Linked DNA regions of Homo sapiens: region 1 is linked to region 2. The links are contacts of gene promoters, found by promoter capture Hi-C in blood cells and fetal thymus (Javierre and others, 2016). All regions are on one chromosome and are shown on one strand. Each heading gives the region's core, a stretch centred on a gene start or on the middle of the fragment in contact. The rest is flanking DNA. Distances are from core to core; before and after follow the strand shown. Region 1 overlaps PLEKHS1 (pleckstrin homology domain containing S1). Region 2 holds the start of ADRB1 (adrenoceptor beta 1).

What was found. Contacts are between HindIII fragments. The CHiCAGO score rates a contact against its expected background, and 5 or more counts as called.
Region 1: a fragment that was not itself captured here is called in contact with the fragment with the promoter of ADRB1 in region 2 in 1 of 17 cell types (megakaryocytes); the score reaches 7.2 in megakaryocytes.

What each region holds. Positions count from the first base shown.
Region 1 is chr10:113,778,140-113,783,922 of GRCh38, forward strand. PLEKHS1 (pleckstrin homology domain containing S1) reads left to right here. Exons shown (of 13, transcript NM_001395068.1): 13 at 2,463-5,290. The coding sequence ends at 2,642. Among named protein-coding and RNA genes, the nearest start is that of MIR4483, 3.0 kb to the left of the region's middle. The HindIII fragment of the contact is 989 bases long and covers 1,481-2,469 here.
Region 2 is chr10:114,042,415-114,048,201 of GRCh38, forward strand. It overlaps ADRB1 (adrenoceptor beta 1), which reads left to right and starts at 1,452. Exons shown (of 1, transcript NM_000684.3): 1 at 1,452-4,490. The coding sequence starts at 1,719. The coding sequence ends at 3,152. LOC124902554 (a long non-coding RNA gene) reads right to left here. Exons shown (of 2, transcript XR_007062383.1): 2 at 4,548-4,781. RefSeq lists an enhancer at 820-869 and silencers at 1,140-1,419, 1,490-1,549. The HindIII fragment of the contact is 8,909 bases long and covers 1-5,278 here.

The DNA.
Region 1 (5,783 bases), core at 725-3,224, 260 kb before region 2:
GTGACCTTAGGAAATTCACTGCCTTCTCTGGGCTTCAGCTTATTCTCACTAAAGTGAGAGGCTGGTTTTCAAACTGTGCTTCTTGCATCCCCAGGATGGAGGTGAAAGGAGAGGAGAGGAAGGAGAGAGTATGCTGGGTCTTCAACTGGAGAAGCTTACATTTATCTTTTATCTTTTATGAAAAAAAGATTAGTCCAAAATATTGGACTTTCCTGTTAGCTTTCCTTAAAAAACAGTTCTTTGGCTTCAAATTTCTGAAAACCATTGTATTAGATGATTTCCAAATTTCTTCCAGCTCTAGGAATTTTGTGATTGTGTAGCATATCTATATTAAGAACACATCTTATCTCTTCTGCACTACGTAATAATCCCATTGGTCACACAAATTGTGCCATCCCTATTACTCATTACCCTAAATGAGTAATTCCAGTGAGGATAAGTGAATGAGTTGTCTAAGATATATAACTAGTTAGTGGCAGGGCAAGTACACATTCGTTCACTTTCTTTTTTTTTTTTTTTTTTGAGACGGAGTCTCGCTCTTTCGCCCAGGCTGGAGTGCAGTGGCGCAAACTCGGCTCACTGCAAGCTCCGCCTGCCGGGTTCACACCATTCTCCTGCCTCAGCCTCCTGAGTAGCTGGGACTACAGGCGCCGGCCACTACGCCCAGCTAATTTTTTGTATTTTTAGTAGAAACAGGGTTTCACCGTGGTCTCAATCTCCTGACCTCGTGATCCGCCCGCCTCGGCCTCCCAAAGTGCTGGGATTACAGGCGAGAGCCACTGCGCCCGGCCCATTCACTATTTATTGAGCATCTGCTGGGTGCTGTATACTGTGCTAAATTCAAGAGCTACAAAAATGGCCTCAGCCTGAGCTGAAGCTCACAGATTAGTGGATGAAGCAGGCATGTTATGTGCTACTTGCTATACAGTGTGTGCCCTGAGATATGAACACAGGGCCATAGGATCACAGAGGTAGAATGGAGTAAATCTACATGAAGGAGGCCAGGAAGGTGTCTCAAAGAAAGTGGTGTTTGGCTTAGGTTTTGAAGACTGGATAGGAGACTGCATGGTGGAAAAGAAGTAGATTTCAGGGCCCTAGTCCAACAATCTGGTAACTATAGTACATTTTCTCTGCCAAAGATCCACACTGGGCTGGGTGTGGTGGCTCACACCTGTAACCCCAGCACTTTGGGAGGCGGAGGTGGGCAGATCATGAGGTCAGGAATTCGAGACCAGCCTGGCCAATATAGTGAAACCCCGTCTGTATGAAAAATACAAAAAATTAGCTGGGCATGGTGGCGGGTGCCTGTTATCCCAGCTACTGGGGAGGCTGAGGCAGGAGAATAGCTTGAACCCAGGAAGCGGAGGTTGCAGTGAGCCGAGATTGCACCATTGCACTCCAGCCCTGGGAACAGTGTGAGACTCTGTCTCAAAAAAAAAAAAAAAGGATCCACATACACTGGGGCCAAGTGGTCAATATAAGCTTCTGAACTCTTCTGAAAGTTACCAAACACTACTCTGACCCAAAGATCCAGGCATTAATTCAGAAGCCAAGAAAAGGGTTTTTGCCTGTGAGCAGATCCAGGAACTGTACCTGGGTGTTGCTGACTGCAGTTTATCCTGACTGCCTTTCTAGACTGTGGAGTCATTGCATTTCTCTTGTGCTCGTTCTGCCTTCCCTTTCTAATTGATAACAGCCCCTACATGCTATTGAGAAATATGCAGTATTCATCTTCATGATTATCTGGAAGATAGAAAATTCCCTTACTTTCCCACTGCCTCCATTCCTGATTTCTTTGTGTTGATGGGTATCCACTGCTCTTTTAAAATTCAAACACATAGTCCCTGGAAGGAAAAAGAATATTGGAAAAGGGAGATATGGAACCAAAGGAAGAACAGCCATTGGCCCTTGATGTTTTAAAGTGCCTGAGCCAATCCCATTTACTCTCCTTCCTGTTATGCTACAGATGAGGGAAGTGGAGGTTGGGGTGGGGATGGGGCAGGGATTGGGAGGGGAGAGAACTGAGATTTTCAAGGGAAGGGGAGAAGGTGTGTGCAGGGGAAGGACATGACAGGTTGCAGGAGAAACTGATCAAGTTTAAGTTTCCTCCCAATCTTGTCTGGGGGAGTCCTGTCTGGTGGTTTCATTTTGATTCACTTGTTTGAAGAGGCCTTTTTAATTCTTGGTGCAATTGGACCCCTTAGAGCACCATCAATGCTACCTGGATCCTTCCTTAAAAGCTCAGCTTCCTTTTCAGGCCATGGATGCCAGAAAATAAAAATCCACCTTCCACCTAACTAGCCAAGTAAGTCATCCCTGTCTATTTCTGGCCCAGATATTACAGTTCACTGCAGGACTTTCTTCAATACCAGCTCCCAAGGGTATGAATGAGGACAGATTGGGAAGCAACAATCTTAAAGATAATCTTTAGCCATTTAACTTTCTTCTTTCTTGTGTTTTAGAAATTAAAGCTTACCATCGGCAGGATCCCAAATTCAGAGACATTCCATGCTGCATCCTGTATGTGTCCCTCAAAATGCCAAAGTGCTGCACCTTCTCAGCTGGATAAGCCTAGACTGAACAGAGCTCCCAAGAGGAGTCCGGCCATTAAAAAGAGCCAGCAGAAAGGAGCCAGGGAGTAACGCACCCCAGACCCATGGCAGCAGAACCAGGATGGAGCTGGGACTGTCCAGCTCTGCCCCCTGCTGCTGCCATGTGATAGGAGACAGTCGGCACCCCCCTCTGAATTTCTGCATCTGCATCTTAACAATGGGGATGACTATCCCCTCTCTGGTTATTGTATCAGAGATGCTAAGAGGGTCATGTGGCATGATTGGAGAACCTGGGGGAATTGGAAGGCCTTATTATCTCAGCTATTGTCCCAAACACCACAGACACAGATTGGGTCAGTCCTTCATGTAATACATGCTGTGTTCTGTGAGGATGTGGTCCACACAATTCCTTCTTTGTTAAGGGACATACAGTTGCAAATACTCACTGCATGAAGGCAAGATTCCCAAGGGAGATGTGATAGCTGATCAGGCTTCCCAGACACCTCCTTCCCAAACACCTCCTTCCCAACACCTCCTTCCCCAACATCCTTCCCAACACCTCCTTCCCAACACCTCCTTCCCAAACACCTCCTTCCCAAACACCTCCTTCCCAACACCTCCTTCCCCAACACCTCCTTCCCAAACACCTCTTTCCCAAACACCTCCTTCCCAGACACCTCCTTCCCAACACCTCCTTCCCAACACCTCCTTCCCAAACCCCTCTTTCCCAAACACCTCCTTCCCCAACACCTCCTTCCCAACACCTCCTTCCCCCTTCCCCAACACCTCCTTCCCCAACACCTCCTTCCCAACACCTCCTTCCCAAACCCCTCCTTCCCCAACATCCTTCCCAACACCTCCTTCCCAACACCTCCTTCCCAAACACCTCCTTCCCAAACACCTCCTTCCCAACACCTCCTTCCCCAACACCTCCTTCCCAAACACCTCTTTCCCAAACACCTCCTTCCCAGACACCTCCTTCCCAACACCGCCTTCCCAACACCTCCTTCCCAAACCCCTCTTTCCCAAACACCTCCTTCCCCAACACCTCCTTCCCCAACACCTCCTTCCCAACACCTCCTTCCCCCTTCCCCAACAACTCCTTCCCCAACACCTCCTTCCCAAACATCCCCTTCCCAAACACCTGCCTCTCTTCAACCCCACAGGCCAGAGTGCTGAGACAGAGTGGCCTTTTGGATTCAATAAGTATCTTGTTCTCTTAAAGACTCAGCAACGATTTTAGAAGTCGCAGCAGTTTTACATCACATGCAGCCAAGATCAGCTTGCTCTACAAGCAATAACAGAACTACTTAGCACTTCAAGGTTGAAAGTTCTTCACTAATGGATCCATTGACTAATTGATCCTGGAAGGCCAAAGGAATAAAATTCTTTTATATAAATAGGAAAACAAAGGCAGAGAGCTAAAGCACTAATCAAATCGGGGGGTGTTAGAGCAAAAACAGGCTTCAGAAAGAGTATTTTACCATGCTTCACATGGAAAAAATCGAGCCCCGGAGCGATGAAAGGCATATTTTCTTTGTTTCTCCAAGTTTCATAACCGTTCAGTTGCAGAACCAAGAATCTAAAACCAGCTCTGGGAAACAAATGTCCAGATGCCAGCCTCATAGTTGAACTTGGATTTGAAAATACCTTCAGCACTTAGAAGAGACATTCAAATACATTTCATTTCCTGTTACCCAGATTGTTCGGAAAGTATTAAAAATTTTTCATTTACATGCTGATACGGTTTGGATCTGTGTCCCTAACAAATCCCATGTCGAGCTGTGGTCCCCGGTGTTGGAGATGGAGCCTGGTGGGAGGCAGCTGGATCGTGAGGTCGTGGGGGTGGAGTTCTCACGAAGGAGTTAGCATCATCCCCTTGGCGCTGTTCTCGTGATAGTAAGTTCTCGTGAGATCTGGTTGTTTAAAAGTGTGCAGCACCTCTCCGCTCACTCTCTTCCTCCTGCTCCTGCCGTGTAAGATGCCTGCTCTGTCTGCCACAAGTGAAAGCTTCCTGAGGTCTCCCCGGAAGCAGATGCTGCCACGCTTCCTGTACAGCCTGCAGAACTGTGGACCAATCAAACCTCTTTTCTTATAAATTACCTGGTCTTGGGGATTTCTTTATTTAATGTGAGAACGCATGCCCTTTTGGATCTGCTGTTTCTACTTTTATAAATTTATCATGCAGAAATACACAAATACACAAAGATACATGTAAAAAAAGTAGTTTACTGCAGTACTGTTTGTAATAATAAAAAATCAGGCTGGACGTGGTGGTTCATGCCTATAATTCCAACCCTTTGGGAGGCCGGGACAGGTGGATCACCTGAGGTCTGGAGCTCGAGAACAACCTGACCAACATGGAGAAACCCTGTCTCTACTAAAAATACAAAACTAGCTGGGCATTGTGGCACATGCCTGCAATCCCAGCTACTTGAGAGGCTGGGGCAGGAGAATCACTAGAACCGGGAGGCGGAAGTTGCAGTGAGCCAAGATCATGCCATTGCACTCCAGCCTGGGCAACAAGAGGAAAACCCAGTCTCAAAAAAAAAAAAAAAATCATGTGGGTATTGCTTAATTCTGATTTCATATCATTGAACACTGTAGATATTAAAATGTTCAGCAGGCACAGTTCTGTAAAATTGTTCGTGATACATTAAGAATGAAAGAATCAAGTTGTATAATAAGGATAACATCATCCCACTTTTGTACAAATAAATGTTTGGTGTTTGTGTGTATGTATATGTGTATATCAAATTTCTTCAACCCTTACTAGAGTGAGAGGTCCGTACCTCCCAGGGCTACTGTGAGGTTTCCTTATAAGTACACTGCCTGATCAGGAGTAAACACTCCATAGGTGTTCTTTGTCCCACTTTTGCTCTACGTGCTTTTTTAAAAAATTAAAACTTAGAGTCAAATTTTTAGTAAAGAGTTATCTCTGAGAAATACGATCAGGGTTGGCCATGGGAAGAGAGGCATTTCTGTAATGTTTGAATACTTTTTTTTGCAATGTGCATATGTCACTTTTATAATACAAAAATACAAGCGTGGGAATGTATATATAAATATATATGCACATTTTTTTTCTTTTAAAACAGAGTCTTGCTCTGTCATCCAGGTTGGAGTGCAGTGGTGTGATCTCGGCTTACTGCAACATCCGCCTCCCAGGTTCAAGCGATTCTCCTACTTCAGTCTCCCAAGTAGCTGGGATTACAGGCGCCCGCCACCACA
Region 2 (5,787 bases), core at 202-2,701:
TCATGGCTTTCTTGTCCCCTCACCCCCAGTATAATCCTTTTTGCCAGGTTAACAACTCACTAATTTCAAAGCAATTCATTTGCCAACTCAAAAAAAAAAAAAAAAAAAACCACAGATACAACTTTAAATGCTTTTGGATTTTAATCCTCTGGAGTATTTATATGTTTTCTTGTCTCATCCCTTCAAAACTAATCTCAGAGTTTTGAGAATCTGGGAACTTGGGCAAAGGAGAAAACAAGCACGCAGACCAAGGAATCTGAAATCGCAGTTCATTACGTCAGCATAAACTGACAGTACCTTTTTGTTTGTATTGACCCAGCTCAAATTATAAAATCACATGAGTAATAAAACACAAAATACAGGTGTTATCATTGAAAAGTCTAAAATGTAATTAAACGCGTTTTTTCCCCCTCGCGGTGGTATCGTTTACTCTGTATCTCAACGTTTCTGTCTCCCTAAGCCTCTCCTTTCATATCATGAGCATACATTTTTGCATCATGCTCACACGTTCATTAGCTAGGACTGAGGAGTGTGTACGATTCCAAAGGGCCCTCAGCGTTAGCTGTTAGATGCACAAACCTTCGCTTCCTTTCCACATCTACTGCACTCGAGGTTCAACAGAGGATCCTTGCAAGAACAGCGCCCAGAGAGCATTCTTGACAGATGCGCGCTTGGCTCCAGCAACCCGCTCTGCTGGGAAGTTTCTTCTAACCACTAACACCCACCTCCAATCCCCCAAGCTGTCACGACGCATGCTGGCTGGGTCCCGTCTTGACGGGGGAAGGGTTTTACACACACCCTGCTAGGCTGCCCCACATCACAACCAAGCTCGCAGGGCAAACTCCTCCAAGCCTGGCGGACAAGCTGTCCCAGGCGCTCTGGCGCTTCCTGAACACCAAGGTCCCCTCCCCGCTCAAGGGAGCTAGCGCTCTGTTCCGCAGAGAACCCCGGAACTGCAGGTCGAGGGGATGCGGGGGGAGCGGGGGCGCAGGAGGGAGCCGAGTGCTGGAGGCAAACGGGGCGCAGGAGCGGGTGCGGGAGGCAAACGGGGCGCAGGAGCGGGTGCGGGAGGCAAACGGGGCGCAGGAGTGGGTGCGGGAGCGAGTGGGGGCTGAGGGAGGGGACGGGGCCCCGGGGGGAGCCAGGCGCGGAAGGGGGCGCGGGGGAACAGGGACCAGGAACCAGCGGGCGCAGGAAGGGGTGCGTCCGCAGGAACCCGCGGGCGCACGGGAGGCACTAGCTACGCGATCAGCTCGGGACTCTCAGGAGCCGCTCAATTGCCAACGGGAGGGGGGTGCGGGGAGTTGGAGGTGGGGGTGCAGACCAGACGGGGGCGTGCCTTTGCCCGGATTGGCTGCAGGAGCCTGACGCGAGGCCCCGGGGGTTGGCTTGGGGAGTGGGAGCGGGGTGGGGTGGGTGCTGGGTGCCGGAGCTGCGGGCCCGGCGCGCTCAGAAACATGCTGAAGTCCCGGCGGCTCTTCCAGCAGCGGCAGCGGCTCCAGCAGCAGCGGCGGCGGCGGCGGCGGCGGCAGCGGCAGCGACAGCGCTCGGCTCCTGCGGGAAAGGCGCCCGGCGCCCATGCCTCCGGCCCCGCGCCGCGGCTGCCCTGACCCGGCCGCGACCTCCCTCTGCGCACCACGCCGCCCGGGCTTCTGGGGTGTTCCCCAACCACGGCCCAGCCCTGCCACACCCCCCGCCCCCGGCCTCCGCAGCTCGGCATGGGCGCGGGGGTGCTCGTCCTGGGCGCCTCCGAGCCCGGTAACCTGTCGTCGGCCGCACCGCTCCCCGACGGCGCGGCCACCGCGGCGCGGCTGCTGGTGCCCGCGTCGCCGCCCGCCTCGTTGCTGCCTCCCGCCAGCGAAAGCCCCGAGCCGCTGTCTCAGCAGTGGACAGCGGGCATGGGTCTGCTGATGGCGCTCATCGTGCTGCTCATCGTGGCGGGCAATGTGCTGGTGATCGTGGCCATCGCCAAGACGCCGCGGCTGCAGACGCTCACCAACCTCTTCATCATGTCCCTGGCCAGCGCCGACCTGGTCATGGGGCTGCTGGTGGTGCCGTTCGGGGCCACCATCGTGGTGTGGGGCCGCTGGGAGTACGGCTCCTTCTTCTGCGAGCTGTGGACCTCAGTGGACGTGCTGTGCGTGACGGCCAGCATCGAGACCCTGTGTGTCATTGCCCTGGACCGCTACCTCGCCATCACCTCGCCCTTCCGCTACCAGAGCCTGCTGACGCGCGCGCGGGCGCGGGGCCTCGTGTGCACCGTGTGGGCCATCTCGGCCCTGGTGTCCTTCCTGCCCATCCTCATGCACTGGTGGCGGGCGGAGAGCGACGAGGCGCGCCGCTGCTACAACGACCCCAAGTGCTGCGACTTCGTCACCAACCGGGCCTACGCCATCGCCTCGTCCGTAGTCTCCTTCTACGTGCCCCTGTGCATCATGGCCTTCGTGTACCTGCGGGTGTTCCGCGAGGCCCAGAAGCAGGTGAAGAAGATCGACAGCTGCGAGCGCCGTTTCCTCGGCGGCCCAGCGCGGCCGCCCTCGCCCTCGCCCTCGCCCGTCCCCGCGCCCGCGCCGCCGCCCGGACCCCCGCGCCCCGCCGCCGCCGCCGCCACCGCCCCGCTGGCCAACGGGCGTGCGGGTAAGCGGCGGCCCTCGCGCCTCGTGGCCCTGCGCGAGCAGAAGGCGCTCAAGACGCTGGGCATCATCATGGGCGTCTTCACGCTCTGCTGGCTGCCCTTCTTCCTGGCCAACGTGGTGAAGGCCTTCCACCGCGAGCTGGTGCCCGACCGCCTCTTCGTCTTCTTCAACTGGCTGGGCTACGCCAACTCGGCCTTCAACCCCATCATCTACTGCCGCAGCCCCGACTTCCGCAAGGCCTTCCAGGGACTGCTCTGCTGCGCGCGCAGGGCTGCCCGCCGGCGCCACGCGACCCACGGAGACCGGCCGCGCGCCTCGGGCTGTCTGGCCCGGCCCGGACCCCCGCCATCGCCCGGGGCCGCCTCGGACGACGACGACGACGATGTCGTCGGGGCCACGCCGCCCGCGCGCCTGCTGGAGCCCTGGGCCGGCTGCAACGGCGGGGCGGCGGCGGACAGCGACTCGAGCCTGGACGAGCCGTGCCGCCCCGGCTTCGCCTCGGAATCCAAGGTGTAGGGCCCGGCGCGGGGCGCGGACTCCGGGCACGGCTTCCCAGGGGAACGAGGAGATCTGTGTTTACTTAAGACCGATAGCAGGTGAACTCGAAGCCCACAATCCTCGTCTGAATCATCCGAGGCAAAGAGAAAAGCCACGGACCGTTGCACAAAAAGGAAAGTTTGGGAAGGGATGGGAGAGTGGCTTGCTGATGTTCCTTGTTGTTTTTTTTTTCTTTTCTTTTCTTTCTTCTTCTTTTTTTTTTTTTTTTTTTTTTCTGTTTGTGGTCCGGCCTTCTTTTGTGTGTGCGTGTGATGCATCTTTAGATTTTTTTCCCCCACCAGGTGGTTTTTGACACTCTCTGAGAGGACCGGAGTGGAAGATGGGTGGGTTAGGGGAAGGGAGAAGCATTAGGAGGGGATTAAAATCGATCATCGTGGCTCCCATCCCTTTCCCGGGAACAGGAACACACTACCAGCCAGAGAGAGGAGAATGACAGTTTGTCAAGACATATTTCCTTTTGCTTTCCAGAGAAATTTCATTTTAATTTCTAAGTAATGATTTCTGCTGTTATGAAAGCAAAGAGAAAGGATGGAGGCAAAATAAAAAAAAATCACGTTTCAAGAAATGTTAAGCTCTTCTTGGAACAAGCCCCACCTTGCTTTCCTTGTGTAGGGCAAACCCGCTGTCCCCCGCGCGCCTGGGTGGTCAGGCTGAGGGATTTCTACCTCACACTGTGCATTTGCACAGCAGATAGAAAGACTTGTTTATATTAAACAGCTTATTTATGTATCAATATTAGTTGGAAGGACCAGGCGCAGAGCCTCTCTCTGTGACATGTGACTCTGTCAATTGAAGACAGGACATTAAAAGAGAGCGAGAGAGAGAAACAGTTCAGATTACTGCACATGTGGATAAAAACAAAAACAAAAAAAAGGAGTGGTTCAAAATGCCATTTTTGCACAGTGTTAGGAATTACAAAATCCACAGAAGATGTTACTTGCACAAAAAGAAATTAAATATTTTTTAAAGGGAGAGGGGCTGGGCAGATCTTAAATAAAATTCAAACTCTACTTCTGTTGTCTAGTATGTTATTGAGCTAATGATTCATTGGGAAAATACCTTTTTATACTCCTTTATCATGGTACTGTAACTGTATCCATATTATAAATATAATTATCTTAAGGATTTTTTATTTTTTTTTATGTCCAAGTGCCCACGTGAATTTGCTGGTGAAAGTTAGCACTTGTGTGTAAATTCTACTTCCTCTTGTGTGTTTTACCAAGTATTTATACTCTGGTGCAACTAACTACTGTGTGAGGAATTGGTCCATGTGCAATAAATACCAATGAAGCACAATCAAGATTATGTACTGTGTGTCTGTAAAGGGTCAGTGACAATGAAAAAGACAGCTTGTTTTGTTCAAAATATAGACTGGATTTCCCATAGAGCTCTTTTAATAGGTTTCCATGACTCAATAACATAGCAAAATGCCTCCAGACCTAAATAAGGTGTTTACCTACTGAGAGCTACAGATTTACCCTACATTTTCACAGCCGGATTCAAGGTGTTCTAGACTACTTGTAGGCACTTTCAAGATCCCATCTGCTGCACTTGACTGAAGAAGTGACCTTTGTGATTGCGTAGCTCCTAAAAAAAAAAAAAAAAAAAAAAAAGTGACGCGGTCATTTAACTCAGCTGCAACTTTTCACGGAAATGCAGGAAAGACTAACTCATTGAATGATCAGTTGCCTACTTGGAATGCAATAAGTGGCTTCCACAGCTTATTTTTGTTTTCCAATAGAAAATCACAGCCTGCGGATGATCAGTGTGTGCAGATTTCTCCAGAGGCTGTTTAGAATGAAAAATGCTTTCATGGTTAAGCAAAAATGTATAAAAGGGCTTCTGAAGTAAATTTTTTTCTCTTATGTAGTTAAATAGATCATTTTGCCAGAAGTTCTGGGTGGACAGATCATAGGTAAAAGCAAGTGTGAAAGGATTTAAGTTTCCAACAAAATTACAGCACCCAAAGGATGGGGTATTTTTCATAAAGTTATTTCCTAAAGGAAGGGATAGTGCAATTCTGTCCTGAGATTAATTTTACATTCTCCAAAATACATTTAAAGTTCTTACTATATTTTTAAATAAGCTTTTTATTTCATGACCATACAGTAAAGAAACCAAAGTAAAGAATATTAACTTCTGGCTTATGCTGCACTTTAAATGAGCGGAGTATTCTTTAACAGGGAAAAGTTGAGACTGAATATTCTTTTTTGCAATGGCATATTCTAAAGACAAGGCAACCATCTTCTGAGAAAGGTTAATGACGTAGATGTTTTAGAGACCAGCAGAAGGTTGCATGAACAGTAACAGCCTCAACAAAAGCTGCTATGAAGTTTAACCCCTTTCCAGCAAAAAAAAAAAAAAAAAAAGGAAAAGGAAAAAGGAGAGCTTCTTTAAGAATACAAAGATAAATACTTAAACATATTTTGAAGAACATAAAATCAGTCTCAGGATGAAATGTCACTATAATTTCCCTAGGAACCAAATATGGTTAATATCCATCCACCCCCGACCATGAGTATGTAAGATGCATTTTCTTAGGGGTTTTGTCCTTCTTTGTTTGAAATTACTAGACACTGAAGTACCAGGTAAA